Regions from separate parts of the Homo sapiens genome. Here regions 1, 2, 3 and 4 are each linked to region 5. The links are contacts of gene promoters, found by promoter capture Hi-C in blood cells and fetal thymus (Javierre and others, 2016). All regions are on one chromosome and are shown on one strand. The core of a region is centred on a gene start or on the middle of the fragment in contact, and the rest is flanking DNA. Distances in the headings are between cores, read along the strand shown. Region 1 has its middle 20 kb from the start of RUFY4. Region 2 holds the start of CATIP (ciliogenesis associated TTC17 interacting protein). Region 3 overlaps USP37 (ubiquitin specific peptidase 37). Region 4 overlaps RUFY4 (RUN and FYVE domain containing 4). Region 5 holds the start of ARPC2 (actin related protein 2/3 complex subunit 2).

Region 1 (2,700 bases), core at 5-2,504, 170 kb after region 5:
CTTAGGTCAAACTCATACTTTTATGATCTTAAAACATCTAGCAGAGACAAATATAACACTGTCTGGCTACCAAACCCAGGCCAAAAAAAATGTGTGGTAATACAGAGAAAGATGTGAATATCCAGCTATAAGAAGGTCATAGAACATGAAATGCTGTGGATTTTGTAGTTTGGCGAGTAGGAGGGAGTGGCACTCAGTGGCTTCTTTCACTCTTGCAGTTCTGTGAGCTGGAGGGAGGGTTATAGCTCTTATTCCCACCTCCCACAGTTTGGTGAGCTAGCCAGGAGTGTCACAGCTCTTTTGCTCCTGCAGTTCGGCAAGTGGAAGGGAGGGTTACAGCTCTTTCACCCCTGTAATCTGTAGCTCATCAAGCCAGCCAGGAGCATCACAGCTCCTTCACTCCTGCCTACTGTAGCTTGGTGAGTTCCGGGTTCTTGTCCTGTGATCAAGAGGAATAAGATATGTGGACACTGGAGAGTGAGTAAGGCGGAGAAGAATTTTATTGAGTGACAGAAGAAAAGCTCTCAGCTGCAGGAGCGGACACTGAAAGTGGGGTAGCCATCTGTGAGGCTGAGTCTGGGATTTTTATGGGCTAAAAATGGAGGAATACTTGCTGACTGGTCCATGGGTGGCTTTGGAAAAAACACCTTTGATTGGTTAAAAGACATCATCCAGAAGTAGCCAATCAAGAGAGAGTGGGTGAGATGAGGATAGAAGTTCTCACTCCAGTCATGGACTCTATCTAGAACTAGCAGCTGGGTTTTCAGGCTTTAAACTGTCCTTGATTTGAAGGTCAGGTTTCACCAGGGACCCATCCCTGTCTGACTAGGAATTTGTCTGTCTCCTGTCACTATCACAAGCAGATTCAATTCAAATAAGATTATCTCAAGGCATCTATTCATCAAACTCAAAGATAAAGAAGGTCAAAGATAAAGAAAGGACCTAGCTGGGCACGGTGGCTCACGCCTGTAATCTCAGCACTTTGGGAGGCTGAGGCGGGTGGATCACCTGAGGTCAGGAGTTCAAGACCAGCCTGACCAACAGGGAGAAACCCCGTCACTACTAAAAATACAAAAAATTAGCCAGCTGTGGTGGCGCATGCCTGTAATCCCAGCTACTTGGGAGGCTGAGGCAGGAGAATTGCCTGAACCTGGGAGGCAGAGGCTGCGGTGAGCTGAGTTCATGCCATTGCACTCCAGCCTGGGCAACAAGAGTGAAACTCCATCTAAAAAAAAAAAAAGACCTAAAACAGCAAGAAAAAAAGAAGTCAATTAAATATGAAGGGGCTCCAATACATCTGGCAGCAGACTTCTTAGTGGAAACTCTACTGGCCAGGAGAGTGAGATGATATATTCAAAGTGCTGAAGGAAAAACTTTCAACCTCAAATATCATATTCAGCAAAATTATCCTTCAAAGATGAAGGAGACATAGAGACTTTCCCAGGCAAAAACACCTGCCAACTCTGGACATGATCCACAAGTGAGCTGCCTGCCCCAGGCCATGGGAAAAAGAAGGTCATTTGAGGAACATTCTAGAATCCCAAGCCTGAGTATCAGATGATGAGGTCCCAAACCTGCCATTTGGAATGGTGTGGAAACTCAGGGCCAAGAAATTTAGCAACAACAAAAAATGCTGTGAACCATATGACCCAGTAGTGCCCCAGCCAGTACAGCCATGAAACTTCCCCCATGTAGATTTCTTTGTAATCAAGGGCAAATGCAAGATTACATGAAAATATGCTCTTCGAAAGATAAATTCATGATTAAATATTACAAAGAACTAACAACCACCAGAATCAACAATCAGCCAACTTAACCCATGGGAGATTTAACAACTGAGGACTAGAGATAACAGAGCAATCTGAATGTGATTTTTAAAATAAGCATGTTTTAAAAATCCAGAGGCGTTTTATATTAAGAATGGAGAATTTAATGAACATGTTTACCTCTGTTTCCTCTCAAAAATCCACTAAAAATGACACTAAAGGGATTTTTTTTAAAAGGCATAATCCTACAAGGTACAAGGATTAAGAGAAAGTGAAGAAAAGATAACCGATTAAAAAAATAGAAATCAGAAGTAGATGGATAAGTGGTAACTGAGTTTATTAGACCAAAAATAAAGAGAGACAATAAAGGGAATCAAATAAATCTTTACAAAAACCATAATATCTTCAGAAACATAAGAAACACTATAAAAACCCTGGAAAACAACCTAGGAAATACCATTCTGGGTATAGGAATGAGCAAAGATTTCATGATGAAAACACAAAAAGCAACGGCAACAAAAGCAAAAATTGACAAATGGGATCTAATTAAACTAAAGAGTTTCTGCACAGCAAATGAAACTATCAACAGGGTGAACAGACAACCTGCAGGATGGGAGAAGATTTTTGCAAACTATGCATCTGACGAAGGTCTAATATCCAGCATCTATAAAAAACTTAAACAAATTTACAAGAAAAAGCAACCCCACTAAAAAGTGGGCAAAGGACATGAACACTTTTCAAAAGGAGACATACATGTGGTCAGCAATCGTGTAAAAAAAGCTCAATATCACTGATCATTAGAGAAATTCAAATCAAAACCACAGTGAAATACCACTTTAGACCAAAAAAGACAAAAAATAAAAGATGCTGGCAAGGTTGCAGAGAAAAAGGAACGCTTATACGCTGTTACTGGGAGTGTAAATTAGTTCAACCA
Region 2 (2,700 bases), core at 109-2,608, 140 kb before region 5:
GCTATTCTTCAGCTTCACTGTGTATGTAATAGGTTTTTTGGTTTGTTGTTGCTGCTGTTTTTTAAGTCAAAATCTGTCTTCTCTCCCCTGGATTGGGTCAAGGCTGGGGCCCTGGGAAGTACCTTGATGAAGTCTTGGCTGTGCTGTTCCATGAGCTCCAGCTTCTCTGAGAGATAGCCTGGGGTGCAGGGACACAGGCATTGACGTCACAGGAGATGTGGGTCAGAGGCTGAAGGAAGGGAAGGTGGTGGCGCAGCTGGAGGACTAGGTGTAATACGGTCCCAGAAAAACTACAGGATGGGTAAGATGTGCCCTCATCCCGAGTCCATGAGGAACTCGCTCATCCCTCTCCCACCCCGTGCCTTGTCCTGGTCCAAGGCAAAGCCAAGGGCTTGGTCCTGAAAAAAGATTCTAGGAATTGGTGGAGGGGAGGGTTGGAGGAAGGGGAGAGTGACGGGCATCAGGCAGTAGGAACGCTACCCAGGAGGGAATTTCCGCAGAGCATTTTGTCCAAGAAGCCTCGGCTAGAGGCATGCACGAAGAGGCAGTATGTCAGCATGCCGAGTTTTTCCTGGTATTTCCCTCTCTGCACCTCAATGGTCAGCTCTCCCTGAGGCTCCCCGGTGTCTGAGACCATGGCCAGCGTCTCAGAGAAGAACAGCATCTGTAGCTCCTCCTTGTCTGGGGTGAGGGGCCCGTGGGAACAGATAAAGCCCCTGCTCCTGGGCCCCAATCCAATCCTCTGACCCCATGACCACCAGTGTCCCCACAGTCCCCACCTGCCTCCTCATCCCACAGCCTTCCTCACTGGCACGGACAGGTGAAGACTCCTGCCCCATGTCCCCATGTCCCCGGGGGGCCTTCCCTTGAAGAATGTCAACAAACAGGCCTCAGGCCTTTTCTGAGTCCCAGGAGAATCAAGGAAGAGAGAGAGAGAGAGAGAGAGAGAGAGAGACTGGACTTTCTTCCCTCCTCTCCAGACTTGCACCCCTCCCGCACCCCCAACCCCGACACTGTCTGAGCTCACGGAGGGAGCTGAGGAAGTCGATGGCTTCAGCATTGGCCTCTGGGAGTGGCAGACACTCCGGACCCGAGGGCTGGTGGTCCTTAGCTCTGGAGCCTACAGAGGGATGAGAGGCTAAGATGGCAGACCCTGGGGAGAAGGGCAGGGGTCAGGGAGGCAAGGCAGGGTACCTCAGTCCTGGCCCCAGCACCCAAGAACAGAATCCTCTAAGACTACCCCGAGGGTGGATTGGGAAGAAAGAAGAGGATCCCCGCCTCCAGCCCCAGCAGTCCTCTTCCCACCTGTGGAGTAAACCTTGGAGGACATGCTGTGGGCCTGCCTCTACCCGGTCTGTGTCCAGCTGTCTCCATGGCAACCAGAGCTGGACAGTGCCTCTTAAAGGGCCATCAACCCACTTTACTACACCCAGACCTTGGAGGGAACTGACACTGCAGGTTTGGGGCTCAGCACAAGCTTGAGGTGTTGTCCAGCAGAGGGAGCATTTGATATATATTTTTTTCTTTTTTGAGACGCAATCTCGCTCTGTCACCCAGGCTGGAGTGCAGTGGCGCATTCTCATCTCACTGCAACCTCTGCCTCCCGGGTTCAAGCAATTCTTCTTGAGGTCTCAGCCTCCCGAGTAGCTGGGACTACAGGCGCACACCACCGCGCCCAGCTAATTTTTGTATTTTTAGTAGAGATGGGGTTTCACCATATTGGCCAGGCTGGTCTTGAATTCCTGAGCTCGTGATCCTCCTGCCTCAGCCTCCCAGAGTGCTGGGATTACAGGTGTGAGCCACCGCGCCTGGCCCACATTTGATATTCTTAAGAGGCAGAGTGAAGAAATGGGTCATTAGAATGACCTTAGAAGAGGCCAGGTGTGGTGGCTCACACCTGTAATCCCAGCACTTTGGGAGTCCCAGGCAGGTGGATCACTTGAGGCCAGGAGTTTGAGATCCAGCCTGGCCAACATGGTGAAACCCATCTCTACTAAAAATACAAAAATTACCAGGGAGTGGTGGCACATGCCTGTAATCTGTCTCAAAAAAAAAAAAATGACCTTAGAAGATATGAACGAAAGTCAGACAGAGTCTCAAATGCACACTATCCAATTAGCTGCTACATGAATATCTCTGCAAGTTACAGTTCTAATACATGTAACAATAATGATAACAACAATGACAACATAGCAAACTCTTTGACTGGACTTATTCCTGGTGAGGCGCTTTTTTTTTTTTTTTTAGAGAGTCTCACTCTGTTGCCAGTCTGGAGTGCAGTGGCGCCATCTTGGCTCACTGCAACCTCTGCCTCCTGGGTTCAAGTGATTCTCCTACCTCAGCCTCCTGAGTAGCTGGAACTACAGGAGTGTGCCACCATGCCCAGCTAATTTTTGTATTTTTATTTTTATTATTTTTATTTATTTATTTGTTTGTTTTAATTATTTTTGAGAAAGAGTCTCACTCTGTCACCCAGGCTAGAATGCAGTGGCATGATCTCAGCTGCAACCTCCTCCTGCCAGGTTCAAGTGATTCTCCTGCCTCAGTCTCCCAAGTAGCTGGGACTACAGGCACCCGCCACCACACCTGGCTAATTTTTGTATTTTTAGTAGAGATGGGGTTTCACCATGTTGGCCAGGCTGGTCTTGAACTCCTGAGCTCAAGTGATCCACCTGTAGAGTCCAGCCCTACGGGGCTTAG
Region 3 (2,700 bases), core at 19-2,518, 240 kb before region 5:
AGATTATGCCATTGTACTCCAGCCTGGGCAACAAGAGCGAAACTCCATCTCGGGGGGAAAAAATTACCTTTAGTTACACTGAATAACTGTATCATCTTTATAATTAAATACCAAAAACGGTTGTTCCTCACTGAAAACTATTGAATTGGTGATGTTAATTAGGGCACATTGAACTGTTTTTTTTTTTTTAACCCTTTTTCCCCCCTTAAATAATTGCTTTTTCTCCTCAAATTTTGATTATCCAGGATCCTACCATCCTAACACAATTACTCTCAGCACTTTGACATATTTCTTTGTTATTCTCACCTCCATGTATACTTTTTAAAAAGTCGTAAGTATAGTTTTTATTTCATTTGCTTTTTTGTTCTAGAGACAGAGTCTCACTGTGTTGCCCAGGCTGGCTTCAGACTCCTGGGCTCAAGGGATTTTCCTGCCTCAGCCTTCCAAATGGCTGGAACTAGAGGCACACACTGCCACACCCAGGTTATCCTGTTTCTTAAAGAGTAGTTATTTATAAGCTTATGTTTAATGGCTGTACTATATTGCCTCAAATAAATATCCTACTTATTTAACTTTTAGCTAACATTGAGTATTTGTCTAAGTTGTTTTTAATTTTTCACTATGATAATAAGTTGGGAAACTGTATGCTTATAGCATTTTCCTTATTTTATTTTATTTTATTTTTTAATTTTTTTGAGACAGAGTCTCGCTCTGTCACCCAGGCTGGAGTGCAGTGACACGATCTCAGCTCACTGCAACTTCCTCCACTTCCTGGGCTCAAGCGATTCTTGTGCCTCAGCCACCTGAGTAGCTGGGATTGCAGGCATGAGCCACTATGCCCAGCTAATTTTTGTATTTTTAGTAGAGATGCAATTTCACCATGTTGGCTAGGCCAGTCTCAAATTCTTGGCCTTGAGGGATCCACCCATCTCTGCCTCCCAAAGTATGGGGATTACAGGCCTGAGCCACTGCACCTGGCCAAACATAGAGTTGTTTTTTTTTTTTTTTTTTTTTTTAGGCAAGGTCTGTCTGTCACCCAGGCTGGAGTGCAGTGGCGTGTGCTCTTGGCTCATGCATTTTCTATATTTTAGAATTTCTCCTTTTATATTCTCCAGAAGTAAATTACTAAATCGAAGTTTATGAACATTTTAAGTTTCTGGTTTACATATAGCCATATTCCTTCCCCCAATTTTTTTTTTCTTTTCTTTTCTTTTCTTTTTTTTTTTTTTTGAGACAGAGTCTTGCTCTGTCGCCCAGGCTGGAGTGCAGTGGCCCGATCTCAGCTCACTGCAAGCTCCACCTCCTGGATTCATGCCATTCTCCTGCCTCAGCCTCCCGAGCAGCTGGGACTACAGGCGCCCGCCAGCTAATTTTTTGTGTTTTTTTAGTAGAGACAGGGTTTCACTGTGTTAGGCAGGATGGTCTCAATCTCCTGACCTCGTGATCTGCCCACCTTGGCCTCCCAAAGTGCTGGGATTACAGGCGTGAGCCACCACGCCTGGCCTTCCTTCCCCAAATTTTACCTTATAGTGCTGTCTGCAGTGCATGAATATCACTTTTTCAGTTTTGCTTTATTTTACCAAAAATATTTTAATCATATTTTTTAAAATATAAAAGTTCACTCTGATCCCTACAGCAACATAGCAACTCTTTTTAACATTTTTGTTCTATTGTCCAATGCCTAACTCTTAACGTAACATTTTTTTAATAGAGTTATAGTTACTATGTGCATTCATATGGGTTTGGAAAAAAGGTTAACATGTTCCTGATCCATGTAGTTTTTTTATATAACTGAACATTATTATATTGAATTGATATACTAACCAGTTAGCTATTATTGGATATATTGTTGGTTCCAGCTTTTCACCAGATAATGCCACAGTAAATAATTTGATACATATACTCTTCTTTTGACTTATTTCCTTAGAATAAATTCTTAGTTGAGGGTGGAATTCTTGGGTCAAAGGGTATGAACAGATTTTTTAATTGATTCTTACTATGCCACATACCAAAGCTTAGCCATGTCAGCTTTGATAATAAATTTATATTCAGTGTTTTGCTTTTATTCAAATGAAGACTTAAAAGTTATACCCACTTCTGTTTTCCAGACAGGAAATCTGCCTCATTCGTACCGGCTCATCAGTGTTGTCAGTCACATTGGTAGCACTTCTTCTTCAGGTGAATAGCCATCATGATTTCAGCATTTTATAAATGAACTAGTCAGCATTTGCTCTTTATTATATTGCTCTTTGCCTAGCTTTGTGAAGTGTGTTTTTCTTTTTCTTTTTCTTTTTTTTTTTGAGATCCAGTCTCACTCTGTTGCCCAGGATGGAGTGTAGTGGCACAATCTCGGCTCACTGCAGCCTCCACCTCCTGGGTCCAAGTGATTCTGCTGTCTCAGCCTCCCAAGTAGCTGGGATTACAGGCATGCACCACCACGCCCAGCTAATTTTTGCATTTTTAGTAGAGATGGGGTTTCACCATATTGGCCAGGCTGGTCTTGAACTCCTGGGATCAAGAGATCCACCCACCTTGGCCTCCCAAAGTGCTGGGATTACAGACGTGAGCGACCATGCCCAGCCCACGAAGTATAAGTTTTTCAAGAAAATCTTTGAAATCTACTTTGATCACACTCAATGTGCATTGTGTTAATAGGTGTAACTGTTTTGATTTCTCAATTCATAAGTGACCTAAATTCCC
Region 4 (2,700 bases), core at 112-2,611, 140 kb after region 5:
GAGAGGCGGGGACTGTGGGGACCTGAAGAATGTATGGCTTTCAAAGGCATCCCCAAATAATAATCCTGAGTGGGCCAATAAAAATTGACCCGTGGGAGGGAATGGTCCCAGGCTACCATTGCAGACCCTCATCTGTGGGCCAGGTCAGACAGGGGCAAATAACCAGGTATGGAGCTCAACTGTTCTCACCTTGATCTCGTCCTGCAGGGACACCTCGGCTTGCTCCTCCCTTCTGGCCACAAGGGTCACTTCTGTTTGCACTTGTGGATTCTCCACGGTAGAGTCTTCCTTTGTTGCGTGTCCCTGAAGGACCCAGGGCTCCCCCAGGATGCTAGAGCCCCCCGACCCCTGCCTGCTCCCTGATACTGCTCCCTCTACAGCCCCTCTGGGGCTGGGCATCAGCAGCCTCTGGACGTGACTCCACTCTGCTTCCTTTTTGTGAGTCCCCTCTGTTGTTCTCTGACCCTCTGCAACCAGCAGAACCCCTGTGACCTCAGCCTCCATCCCTATCACCTCCTTCTGAGTGCCCATAGCCCCCTTCCCCTGTCCCTGGGTGCTGGGTGTTGAGTTCCCCAGGAAGATCTCAATCCATGGGGCTCTTTCCTCCTGGTCTAGCTGAAGCTCCTTCCCTTCTGGCTCCCACATGCTCTGGGGGTACCTATGTTTCCTGGAACTTTCCCCCTTCTTTTCCAAAAAGAAAGGAAGATGCCTTTGTTGCTGGGACCTGGGAAGCCCTGCCAGCTGCTGTCCACTGGGTGCATCTTGCAGACAGATGGCTTGACTGGTGTGTGAGTCCTCAATCTGGACATTTTCAGGCCCTCCATATGCGGCTGGGATCTGTGGAGAGGACCCAAAACCAGTCATCCCTCTCAGCACCAATTCACTGACCTGGTGCCATTAGATTAGGCCACAGTGCTAATCTAATCAGCTTGCTAAATAGATAGGTACCAGGTCCTCTCACTGGAAGCTTTGATTTATCAAACCCCAAATCTGACTTTTAGCAACACCCAGGTGATCTGAGCGCCATGCTTTGGTCTGGTGAGGGACATCCTGATGTCCTTCTGTCCCTTCCCGCAGCCCACATCCTTCTCCCTCCTGCACCTGGGTCTTGGGTATTGATCTGGTTCCCCCTAAGTTCCTCTCACTCCTTTCCTTTAATTTTTCCTCCCGAACTACATGTCATGTTTCAGTTTTTTCATCTGCAAAATGGGAATGATAATACCCGGTTTTAGGGTTGTGATGAAATCTCGACTAGACCGACACTCAGCTAAGAGCAACCTCTCAAGAAGCCTCTGTGCTCCCATGTTCCTCTGTTCATTTCTGTGTCACTTACACTGAAATTGTATATTGCAATGCTTTTTTTTATGGTATATCTCCATGAAGAGACCCTGAACTTTTCGGACCAGAGAACTAATAGTATCTGTACCCAGTGCCTGGAAGCTGGTGGGGGTGCAAAATGTGCTTGGGGGATGATGATAACAACGACGGTGACCACACACTGTCATGCGGGGAGCGTGTAGCCAGGAGCCCTGTGCAGTGCTGGATGTGAGTTGTGTCCGTTCATCCTCACAATATCCCTATGGGGCAGGACAAGTAACTTGTTCAAGAACCACAGTTTGTAAGGGGTGGGGCTGGAATTCAACCGGGCAACCTGGGTCTTTAGTCACTTCTTGAACTGAACTGAGTCATGTGTCAATTGTCCAGTGCAGGGGACTCAGCAGAGGGTGTCCCTCTCATCTGTTTCCTGAAGCTTTCAGTGGCCCGCCCCTCATAGCACTTTCTCCTTGTCTGGGCCCAGTGGCTCCGGCAGAGGGTGCTAGAGTTCCCTTTCTCTCCCAGTGTCCCCGCCACCCCAGGAATAGGAGCCCTCTCCTCCTCTGCAGCTCCCCAGTCCCCTGCTCCACACACTGGCCTCTTGCTCTGTCTGTCCTGTAGGGTCAGGGCTCTCTGTACACTCGGAGGGGGAAGCTCAGTTTCTACTCAACTTGAGGATGCCAAGGAGATGGGGAAGAGGCAACTCAGAGTGAAGGCAGGGCAGAGGCACCTTCTTTGGGGCATCTTTGTTTTTTCTGGGTCTCCTTCCCTGGGTTTGGGTGGAACTGGAGCAGCGTGACCTGAAAGTGAAAGAGGCAGGGGGACCCTGGGCCTCTCTTCAGTGTTGGGCTTGGTCCTCAGATGGAGGGTATCCCATCTTTCCACTAGCGCATTCATCCCATGACACTTCCTCCTTCCTGCCCACCCACCCTCATGCATCCCATCCTCCATTCATCCGTACTTTCCCTCCTAGCATCCAGCTATCCATTCATCCTCCAGCCCTCCACCTCAACCACCCAGGAAGTCGTTAGTGAGTGCATATTCTAGGCAGCATTATGCCATGAATTTGCACTGGGAGCATCGAGGGCTAGAAGAATCCAAAGGCATGGAGCAAAAGGAGGCAGAGACAGATGGGGCTGGAGGCTGAGGGCTTGGGGCTTGCCTGGGACCCTTGGTGGCCATGGGACCAGGTGTCAAAAGAGACTTCTCTCCTGGCTGCACCCACTCACTCTGAGAACATGGGCCAGGCTCCATCCAGGTCTGGCTGCTGGAGGTCCAACTCGAAGGCCACCCCATTGAGAGCATAGAGAGAGTCCAGGATGTCTTCTTGGCGTTCTGGGCAGAGCAGAGGGCTCCGGGGTCCATACCATTCCCTGTGTTAACAGT
Region 5 (2,700 bases), core at 114-2,613:
GGGACTGGCCACAGGCCACCAAAAATTAGAACCCAAAATCCTTAGCTCATGTTTTAAATATTATACTAGAAAAGCAAAGCAGCTTTGGAGGAGCAGATTGTCTTCTACTGATTCTTGTGTTTGGCAGAGAGGCTGCCTTGGAAAGATGCCCTAAGCCCATCTTTTAAAAAGTCCAATCGTAAAGACAGGTTATCTAAGAACTTTATAGATTCTGGAGTCTTTGAAGTGTGTAACTGGGCCAGGGCTACCACAGAAGAAATCACAGACCTAGGGTCTTGATGTAAGAATTTACAAGATAACCAGATAAAGGCTAGTGGGTGAGGAGAGAGCATTAGAACCTCAAAGGAGAGATAAGGAAGGGGTGTGGAGCGAGGGACAATTGGCTTTGCTTTAAAAATATGTAACAAAATGGCCCAGTGTCTCTCACAGAAGGGTTCGGGGAAGGGAAACCAGAGATCGCGTTTTTCCGGCTCTAAGACTGGGTCGGCTTTTAGTCTTCTCTTCTGCTCCTTTTAAAGGAGATGGGGGTGGGGAACGAGAATGCTGGTGGCGATGTGGGCCTGCATCTCCTTCCCTCCTCCAGTCCTGGGAATTCCTGAAAACTCCTTCCAACCCAATTCCAAACAGGCTCTCTCTGGGTTCAGAACAATGCCGGGGAATTTCACGCAGGGAAGGGGTCCCCTTCTCGCCCCAGAGGGCAGGGGGCTACTCCGGAGCGAGTTCCGGCTCCAGGGTCCCCCACGTCCCACAGGTCTCCTGCCCTTTGGCACGCACAGCCCTCACCACTCGCTGCTTCCGCATCCCTCCTCTGAGCCTCTCCCCACGCATCTCTGCCCCTCGCCCGGCCGCGCCCAATCGCCTCCCACGTCTACCCCGCTGGGGCAGCCCCTACACCCTGCCAGGCACCCCATTTCTCTCCTCCAGGTCTGGGGGACTGGACAACATTGGGGATTAGCTGGGGTCAACTCTGCTTCCCCCGCCACCCCCGGCCCCGGGCGCGCGCTCACCCGGCGGCCGCGTTCTCGAACTTGAGCGCGAGCGTCTCCTCGATGATGCGGTTGTTCACCTCCAGCAGGATCATGGCGGCGGCTGCCCCCAGGGGAAGGAGAAACAAGGGCCGGTGAGGGTGGGTAAGGGAGGCAAGGACGGAGGGAGCGGCCCTGCTGCCCCCTGAGTGGGGCTGGGTGGGGTAGGAGGTTAGGGGAGAAGGGGAGAGGGGCCGGGGTGGAGGGAAGGGTAAGACGAACGCGCTGGCCCACGCACGCAGACTGTGGAGACACCCACCCACCCAACCGACCTGGCCCCCGAAGCCTGAACCCGCCTGCCGAGCCGCCGCCGCCGCCGCCACTGCCGCTTCACCGACAAGCCCGGTCCCCGCCCAGCCCCCGGCTCTAGCCGGCCACTTCCGCTCTCACACCCACTTCCGCTCGCCGCCTGGACGCGCGGCCCCGCGGCGCCATTTCCGCTTCAACCACTCGTGAACGCGAGCGCAGGCGCGCCGGAGGAAACGGAGGCTGCGCTTGCGTATGTGTGATGCCGCCGCCCCACCGTCTACTTTCCCACCGACCCCGCTTACGTCTACCGCCTACCAGTGCGTCCCCCGCGGAGCTGTCATTCCCCGAGGCTTGCCTGACTGTTCAGCTTCTCTCTCCCGCTTGTCCCAGAGATCCAACTCCATTCTTCCGGTCTTGTCATTTCAGAAACCTCGCAAGAAGCTCGCCCTTGTCGTCTCCCAGCGGGCTTCTTAGCTCCCAGCTTGTTTGATGGGGGTGCCTCTTTTTCTTTCCAGGTATAGCTGTCCAGCGACACCATCATGCATTCATTTCTCCAACAAACATTTTCATGGGCTCTTGCTCTATACTGGGGATGTAGTGGTAAATGAAATGGACGAGGCCCTGCCCTCGTGGAACTTACAGTCTGGCAAAGGAAACAGACAATAAAATTCTCAGTTGTCTAAGGAGGCAGAGATGCATGGGGAGAGGATCAGAGTAGGGATGCGGAAGCAGCGAGTGGTCAGGAGTGTGCGTGCCAAAAGGCAGGAGACCTGTGGGACGTGGGGGCAGCTGGGGCCGGAACTTGCGCTGGAGGAACACCCCTTGCCTGCTGGGGCGAGAAGAGGACCCTTTCCTTGGGTGAAATTCCCCATATTGTTAAAAGGACAATTAAAGAAATGAAAGAGAGGTCACCTGGGTGAATAGGCAACTTAGATGGGCCTCCCTGTGTTCCTGTCATGCCTCCAATTCTGCGTCCAGGTGTCCGGAACACATTTTTTTCTGCCTTTGAAACCTTCCAGTACCTCTGGCAGAGATATACCATACCCTCCTTGTTACCTGCGTGCGGAATCTTAACTCATCGTTGTGCTACATCTGCACCTTCTGCCTTTGTGCCTTGTTTTGTGTTTTCCCTCCTCCGGGGAGAATATAATAAACTTAGCTGAGTCCGTTCTACATACAAGGAAATAATTTATTTTCTGCTATGTGTTTGGGGATGGGGATAAAAAAATGAACAAGAAACTAGCTCCTATCATTAAGGCACAGATAGCCCTTTGAAACATTACTTAACGGGCTATGGATAAGCTTCAGGATATTGCTGATCCCCTAAAATTATACGCTAACTTAAATTTTTTTTTTTTTGAGACAGAGTCTTGCACTCTTGCCCAGGCTGGAGTGCAATGGCATGATCTCGGCTCACTGCAACCTC

The links. The method cuts DNA at HindIII sites, captures the fragments that hold promoters and counts their contacts. A CHiCAGO score of 5 or more calls a contact.
Region 1: a fragment that was not itself captured here is called in contact with the fragment with the promoter of ARPC2 in region 5 in 1 of 17 cell types (neutrophils); the score reaches 5.0 in neutrophils.
Region 2: the fragment with the promoter of CATIP here is called in contact with the fragment with the promoter of ARPC2 in region 5 in 14 of 17 cell types (total B cells, monocytes, total CD8 T cells and 11 more); the score reaches 9.3 in total B cells.
Region 3: a contact is called between a fragment that was not itself captured here and the fragment with the promoter of ARPC2 in region 5, in 3 of 17 cell types (monocytes, neutrophils and megakaryocytes). The highest score is 7.8, in monocytes.
Region 4: a contact is called between a fragment that was not itself captured here and the fragment with the promoter of ARPC2 in region 5, in 1 of 17 cell types (neutrophils). The highest score is 6.9, in neutrophils.

What each region holds. Positions count from the first base shown.
Region 1 is chr2:218,048,052-218,050,751 of GRCh38, reverse strand. It overlaps a transcript of RUFY4 not described here. Among named protein-coding and RNA genes, the nearest start is that of RUFY4, 20 kb to the left of the region's middle. The HindIII fragment of the contact is 3,427 bases long and covers 1-2,700 here.
Region 2 is chr2:218,355,515-218,358,214 of GRCh38, reverse strand. It overlaps CATIP (ciliogenesis associated TTC17 interacting protein), which reads right to left and starts at 1,358. Exons shown (of 10, transcript NM_198559.2): 1 at 1,306-1,358; 2 at 1,028-1,120; 3 at 481-681; 4 at 123-178. The coding sequence starts at 1,330. It overlaps CATIP-AS2 (CATIP antisense RNA 2), which reads left to right and starts at 249. Exons shown (of 4, transcript NR_125777.1): 1 at 249-301. RefSeq lists an enhancer at 952-1,463. The HindIII fragment of the contact is 20,732 bases long and covers 1-1,479 here.
Region 3 is chr2:218,456,570-218,459,269 of GRCh38, reverse strand. It overlaps USP37 (ubiquitin specific peptidase 37), which reads left to right. Exons shown (of 26, transcript NM_020935.3): 24 at 2,109-2,178. Among named protein-coding and RNA genes, the nearest start is that of VIL1, 39 kb to the right of the region's middle. The HindIII fragment of the contact is 1,496 bases long and covers 521-2,016 here.
Region 4 is chr2:218,073,230-218,075,929 of GRCh38, reverse strand. It overlaps RUFY4 (RUN and FYVE domain containing 4), which reads right to left. Exons shown (of 13, transcript NM_198483.4): 7 at 2,544-2,687; 8 at 2,045-2,114; 9 at 190-837. Among named protein-coding and RNA genes, the nearest start is that of RUFY4, 5.3 kb to the right of the region's middle. RefSeq lists an enhancer at 1,630-1,924. The HindIII fragment of the contact is 783 bases long and covers 970-1,752 here.
Region 5 is chr2:218,215,852-218,218,551 of GRCh38, reverse strand. ARPC2 (actin related protein 2/3 complex subunit 2) reads right to left here and starts at 1,363. Exons shown (of 11, transcript NM_152862.3): 1 at 1,298-1,363; 2 at 1,008-1,089. The coding sequence starts at 1,081. It overlaps LOC101928487 (a long non-coding RNA gene), which reads left to right and starts at 1,366. Exons shown (of 2, transcript XR_923908.2): 1 at 1,366-1,524; 2 at 1,701-2,451. RefSeq lists a silencer at 1,180-1,229 and an enhancer at 751-1,354. The HindIII fragment of the contact is 6,430 bases long and covers 1-2,578 here.